Regions from separate parts of the Homo sapiens genome. Here region 2 is linked to region 1. The links are contacts of gene promoters, found by promoter capture Hi-C in blood cells and fetal thymus (Javierre and others, 2016). All regions are on one chromosome and are shown on one strand. The core of a region is centred on a gene start or on the middle of the fragment in contact, and the rest is flanking DNA. Distances in the headings are between cores, read along the strand shown.

Region 1 (3,118 bases), core at 165-2,664:
AAGACTGCCTGAACCAGTAGACCTGTGGTTTTGTAGCTGTTTGGAGTATTTCTTGGAAATTGAGCCTCAGGAAGGCAAGTGAGACTAGAATCTAGGCTGCCTATCTCTGAGCTGGTCATCTCATTGAATTAATGGTGGCAGTCATTGGTTACCTGAACATTTTAGGACTCCTGTCCACACGTGGTATTCCAAAAGTGTTATCCTGACGTTGGTAAGAGCTTGTTAGAGTTTGTCCACCGAGGTCTTGAAGCATATGAGATATGAAAATAAATTGCTCAGTACTACTCTCAAGATGTTTTGTGGTTACCCGGAGTAGCTATCCACCAGGTATCAGGAAACATCTTTGAGTTCCTGGTTTTATTATTAGCCATATCATAGTGTTTCAGAACTTTAGCATCACCTGGGGACTCAAAGAAAACACCTAGATACCTTAGAGGTTGTGACTTAGTTGGTCTGGGGTAAATCCTGTGCCAGAACCCTGACCTAGACTCAGTGACTGCAGCAGAACCCAGGCTTTCTGGTTCTTCTGAATAGTTCCCTCCCCACCCAGGGACATCCTTTTTTTTCCTATTTGTAGGTTTGTTTTGTTTTTTTTGTTGGTTTGGTTGGTTGGTGTTTTTGTTTTGTTTTGTTTTGTTTTGTTTTGTTTTGTTTTGGAGATGGAGTCTCGCTCTGTCGCCCAGGCTGGAGTGCAGTGGCGCGATCTCGGCTCACTGCAATCTCTGTCTCCCGGGTTGAAGCGGTTCTCCTGCCTCAGCCTCCTGAGTAGCTAGGATTACAGGTGTGTGCCACCACGCCCAGCTGATTTTTGTATTTTTAGTAGAGACGGGGTTGCACCATGTTGGTCAGGATGGTCTTGAATTCCTGACCTCGTGATCCACCCACCTCGGCCTCCCAAAGTGCTGGGATTACAGGCATGAGCCACTGCGCCTGGCCCTTTGTTTTTTTGAGATGAGGTCTCACTACATTGCTCAAGCTGGTCTCAACCTCCTGAGCTCAAGCAGCCCTCCCACCTCAGCCTTCCAAAGTGCTGGGATTACAGGCACAAGCCATCACACCCAGCCAGGGACACCTTATTTCTTAAGTAGCTGGTCTCATTTTGTAGGTAATGCTGGAGGATGGAAGAAGCAAAGGGTTTGGCTTCGTCTGCTTCTCATCTCCTGAAGAAGCAACCAAAGCAGTCACTGAGATGAATGGACGCATTGTGGGCTCCAAGCCACTATATGTTGCCCTGGCCCAGAGGAAGGAAGAGAGAAAGGCTCACCTGACCAACCAGTATATGCAACGAGTGGCTGGAATGAGAGCACTTCCTGCCAATGCCATCTTAAATCAGTTCCAGCCTGCAGCGGGTGGCTACTTTGTGCCAGCAGTCCCACAGGTGGGTGTGCTGTTTGGTCACAGCTCTTGGGAACCTGCCGGCTGGCAGTATTCTGCAGTGGTTGGGGAGAGGGATTTTTCGTTATTAGAGTTCTAGAATGTCACAATAAGGACCCTTCAAGTAAAAATGAAGGACTTACCCATGGTCACAAACACACACCCACAGTGGCAGTGGTAGCATAAAACAGTCCCCATTAGCTGACCCCTCAGCTCTTGAATAGAAAGAACATTTAAATAATTAGCTTAGGTCCTGGTTAGTGAGATGAGATGAGATACTTCTCTAGGATGGGTTCAGTCCTTAAGGGGGTGTTTGGGTATTCTTCTGTCTTACAGGCTCAGGGAAGGCCTCCATATTATACACCTAACCAGTTAGCACAGATGAGGCCTAATCCACGCTGGCAGCAAGGTGGGAGACCTCAAGGTAGGTGGTGGGGAACAGTAATTGACAGCCCAGGATATACCTGTCCTGGTCTCCCCTGCCTTTCCTTCTTCCCCACTCTGAGGCACAGCCTAGGTTCTGGTCCACATCACTTCTCAATGATGTGCAATTTTTCTCTTCACCAGGCTTCCAAGGAATGCCAAGTGCTATACGCCAGTCTGGGCCTCGTCCAACTCTTCGCCATCTGGCTCCAACTGGTAATGCTCCGGCCTCTCGTGGCCTCCCTACTACCACTCAGAGAGTCGGTGAGCAAACTGGCCTTTAGAAGTGTGGCCTGGGGAGGAGGGAGTCAGGATGACTAGGCTCTGTCCTGGGTTGGTCAGTTTGTTGGGCTCGAATTTATCGAGTCCTGGTTCTGTAATCTTAGCTGTGTGCTTAGGTGGCCACTTCAGGAGCAGAGAAACAGTATGAGTTCTAGGTGTGTCAGTTGCTTTTAACATTCTTTGCTCATCGGTGACCTATGTGAAAAAGGTTAGTTGTAGAAGTTTGCTAGCTGGATGACCACAGAGGCAGCTTGTTCTTTTGGGTGGGGTGAGGAATACAAGGAAACAGTGTATACAGAATATGTCTTGTATTCCAAGATGTGGAAAGAGTTGTATGTTATCCTTTGGCTCATCCTCGAAAGTAGTAGTGGCCCCCTGTGCAATGTGTTGCGTAAACGTGCTTTGAAATTTCTCCTTCCGTGGGACGTGGCCAGTTGGACATCTGCCGCCAACACTGATGTGCATTTGCTGGTCTGTTGTAGGGTCTGAGTGCCCGGACCGCTTGGCTATGGACTTTGGTGGGGCTGGTGCCGCCCAGCAAGGGCTGACTGACAGCTGCCAGTCTGGAGGTGGTATTGGATGCACACAGAAGGGGGAAAGATGGGATTTGACGGGTCTTTGCCCAGACTGATGGGCTTTAATTGTATTTGTTCTTTCCCTAAGGCGTTCCCACAGCTGTGCAGAACTTAGCGCCACGCGCTGCTGTTGCTGCTGCTGCTCCCCGGGCTGTTGCCCCCTACAAATACGCCTCCAGTGTCCGCAGCCCTCATCCTGCCATACAGCCTCTGCAGGTGAGGTTCACCAGACAGAATGCTTAAAAGGATTTCCCCCATTTCCACTTGATGTAAAAGAAGCTGTGCTTTTGATTCCTTCAACAGGTATTAAATGCCTGCTCTGTGTTATGACGCTATGTTCTGATTCACTGTCCCTGCCCTTCAGGGGCTCACTAGTGGGAAAGAAGGGGCTTAAAAGTGCTCTGCCTGATGCCAGTTCACTCAGAAATGCCTCAGAGCGGGCAGCCAGTGCTTCCTCTTCTGTT
Region 2 (3,118 bases), core at 217-2,716, 250 kb after region 1:
GAGCCTCCTACCTCAGCCTCTTGAGGAGCTGGGACTACAGGTGCACACCACTACATCCAGCTAATTTAAAATTTTTTTTTTTACAGATGGGATCTTGATATGTTGCCCAGGCTGGTCTCAAACTTCTGGGATCAAGTAACCCTCTTGCCTTGGCCTCCTAAAGTGCAGGGATTACAGGTATAAGCCACCACACCTGGCCTCAAGTCATTTTTCCTTAAAGATATTCTAAGAGAAATAGGGGAGAGCTAAATCATTCACGGCCTTATAAACCATGTAAGAATTTAGAATTTTATTACGACTATGATATGAAGCCATTGGACAGTTTTGAGCAGGAGAGTGACATGATCTTATTTGCTGTATTTCATCTATTCTAAGGTACACATTTTCTCCACATTTTAGTCTTTCAAATTGGAACATATTTTAGAATCAATGGCATGTCACATAACTGGCAGAGTTTCTTCTTTTTTCCTCTTTTTGGCATGCAGAAAATTATGGTGTAGCTTGTAATCAATGGAGTCTAAGATTCAGTGACATGCAATATGTTCTAAAAAGGGGATTTTGGCTACTCTGTGGGAAAATAGCCTGTGGGGGCCAGAGCAGAAGCAAGAGACCAGCTCAGAGGGTACTGTAGTAGTCTAAAGAAGATTCTTCACTGGAATGTGAACTAGGGAAATAGAGGGGAGATAACGGCAGGCAGTCAGATGTGGGACATGTTTGAAGACAAGAGCCAACGGAGAATATAAAGCTTAAGGCAAAGAGAACAGTTTAGGATGACTCCTGGGTTTTTTGCCTCAGCAATTAGAAAAAAATGGCCATACTATTTCCTGAGATAGGAAAGACAAGTAAGAAGCATATTTAAGAAGAAAACTCAAACATTCTGTTTTTGCCATGTTAAGTTTAAAGGGCCTACGGTCACGCAAATGGAGACTCCTCAAATCACAGCCAACGTCTGCTACTTCTCCAAGCAACCCCAAACATGGGGTTGCAGGAAATACACATCTGCTTAACTGAAGGATCAGGCCAGCTTGTAGCATAAGAACTCTGCTTAATTTGTCTAGAAACAGAACCTACAGTGAAGATGTAGGTTTTCCTGAGCTGGTGATGATTCATGTTCTTTTTGGGATGTGGTAAAGTTACCTTTACAATAGTAGAGTACTGCTGGGAAAATTTTTGACATTGATCCAGTTTTGTCTGATTTCTCTCAATTTCTGCAAATAGGGCCTAGGAAGCAAAATATCACAACATTATCATTGCCATTACCACCATTGAAAGAGCTGAACATTTACTATGTTCTAAGGCAGTAGTTTCCAAACCTTAGCTGCATCAGAATTGCTGGAAAGGGTGGTTAAAACACATACTGCTGGGCCTCACCTCCAGAGTTTCTGGTTCAGTGGGTTTGGGTTCACAAATTTGCACTTTTTTGTCTTTTTAATCTTTTGTAGAAACAAGTTCTCGCTTTCTTAACCAGGCTGGTCTCAAATTCCTATCCTCAAGTGATCCCCATGCCTCGGCCTCCCAAAGTGCTGCAATTACAGGCAGAAGCCACTGTGCCCAACCCAAGAACTTGCATTCCTAACATGTCCCCAGGTGATACGGATGCTGCTAGTCTGGGGTCCACACTTTGAGAACCACTATTCTAAGTATTTTACATGTATCACTTCAGTTAATCCTAGCAACGATAATCTCATAAGGTAGGTTAAATAAATAACAAACTATGTCCATTTTACTGATAAGGAAGTAGAACACTGAGAAGCTAAATAACTTCTTCAAAGGCTTATAGTAGGTAAGTGAGCCAGAATTGGAATCCAGGCAATACAACTCCAGATCTCATACTCTTAACCATAATGCTAAACAAAACAAAACAAAACAAAATACCAACAAAAAAAAAATGCTTAAAATAAATCATTTTCAAAAAAAAAAGAATCATTTTCTTCTACTTACAATTTTCCCTTGGTTTTCAAAACCCCATATCTAATCCTAGTAAAATAAAATGTAATATAAAAAAAAACAAAATAAAGATAATTTTAATCTGTCCATCTAGTGGTTTCAATACAGTTACAGAAACTCAGAACTGAAGGTACCTTACAGGTTCTCTAGTCTAAATGCAAAACCAGTATCTTGGGACGATCCTGCTCAAACCACTCAAAGAAAAGGGAATTTGGATATCTTCCATTTGGAGGAAGCTTTAATTGCCAGTACATCATTTTCTTTTATGATAAAGAAAATTTAAATTTCTAACTCTTCTCGCCAGAGCTACTACCACACTCACCGTCTGCTGGCTGAGCTGCTCCGAAAGCACTCTGCTATCCTCTGCCTGGCCTGGCTTCATCATTTCCTGCTGGGCAGTGGTTTCCTCAATCCACTTGATGAGAGTTCCATGGCAGGCTCGGTAATCTCCCAGAACTTCCTGGATACTTTCTAGCTCAGATTGGCTAGAAGAACAAAGGGAAACTGCTATCAGATACCTTGGTACAAATACAATAAAGTAAATGAGGTAATTCCCTCTTTAACCCATGTATCCAGCTGGGCTTGACCACAAACGATCCATCTTTATCTACGGGGAACAGCGATGCAAGGCTGAGTGAGACCTATGCATGTACCAGTGCCCTATGGTCAAAAAAGTGAGTAGAAACCAGTTGTGACCTGCTAGCCCTGGATGCTGCCTTGTGGTCTAGCATCCCACAATAATCCTTGTCAAATTTTTCACCTAGGTTGCCAAGAATTACCAGGGTGACCAATAAGGTAGTATTGGCTGTACAGTTCTATTCCCTGATGACAGAGTACCTGTCAGTACAGCACAGCTATGATTTATGAATCACTATAATTTCTCAAGGAGAGAGGGGAGAGAAGTGAAAAATAGTCATTATTTCCTGCTACTTCCAATAAGTCATATCACTTCTCTAGTCTAACCAGCTTTGTGATAAGACTTCAATTAGAATGAAAACTTATGAGTTGTTAAGCTCCTCTCCCTACAAATTTCCCTAACCAGCTTAGCCTCCAAAAGGTGCAGTTTCTGTCCTTCCTATTTACATCTGTCATTAGAAGCAGGACCTCTAGTAACAGAGATGAAAAATTACTGAATTAGCAAATGAGATGAAAGCAAGAAATTCTGTAAAGC

Evidence for each region. The method cuts DNA at HindIII sites, captures the fragments that hold promoters and counts their contacts. A CHiCAGO score of 5 or more calls a contact.
Region 2: a contact is called between a fragment that was not itself captured here and the fragment with the promoter of PABPC4-AS1 in region 1, in 1 of 17 cell types (M2 macrophages). The highest score is 5.2, in M2 macrophages.

What each region holds. Positions count from the first base shown.
Region 1 is chr1:39,563,366-39,566,483 of GRCh38, reverse strand. PABPC4-AS1 (PABPC4 antisense RNA 1) reads right to left here and starts at 1,414. Exons shown (of 4, transcript NR_125979.1): 1 at 1,265-1,414. It overlaps PABPC4 (poly(A) binding protein cytoplasmic 4), which reads left to right. Exons shown (of 16, transcript NM_001135653.2): 8 at 1,106-1,378; 9 at 1,711-1,798; 10 at 1,942-2,061; 11 at 2,562-2,648; 12 at 2,743-2,870. The HindIII fragment of the contact is 13,463 bases long and covers 1-3,118 here.
Region 2 is chr1:39,317,767-39,320,884 of GRCh38, reverse strand. It overlaps MACF1 (microtubule actin crosslinking factor 1), which reads right to left. Exons shown (of 101, transcript NM_001394062.1): 30 at 2,270-2,432; 31 at 1,138-1,221. Among named protein-coding and RNA genes, the nearest start is that of MACF1, 110 kb to the right of the region's middle. The HindIII fragment of the contact is 1,438 bases long and covers 748-2,185 here.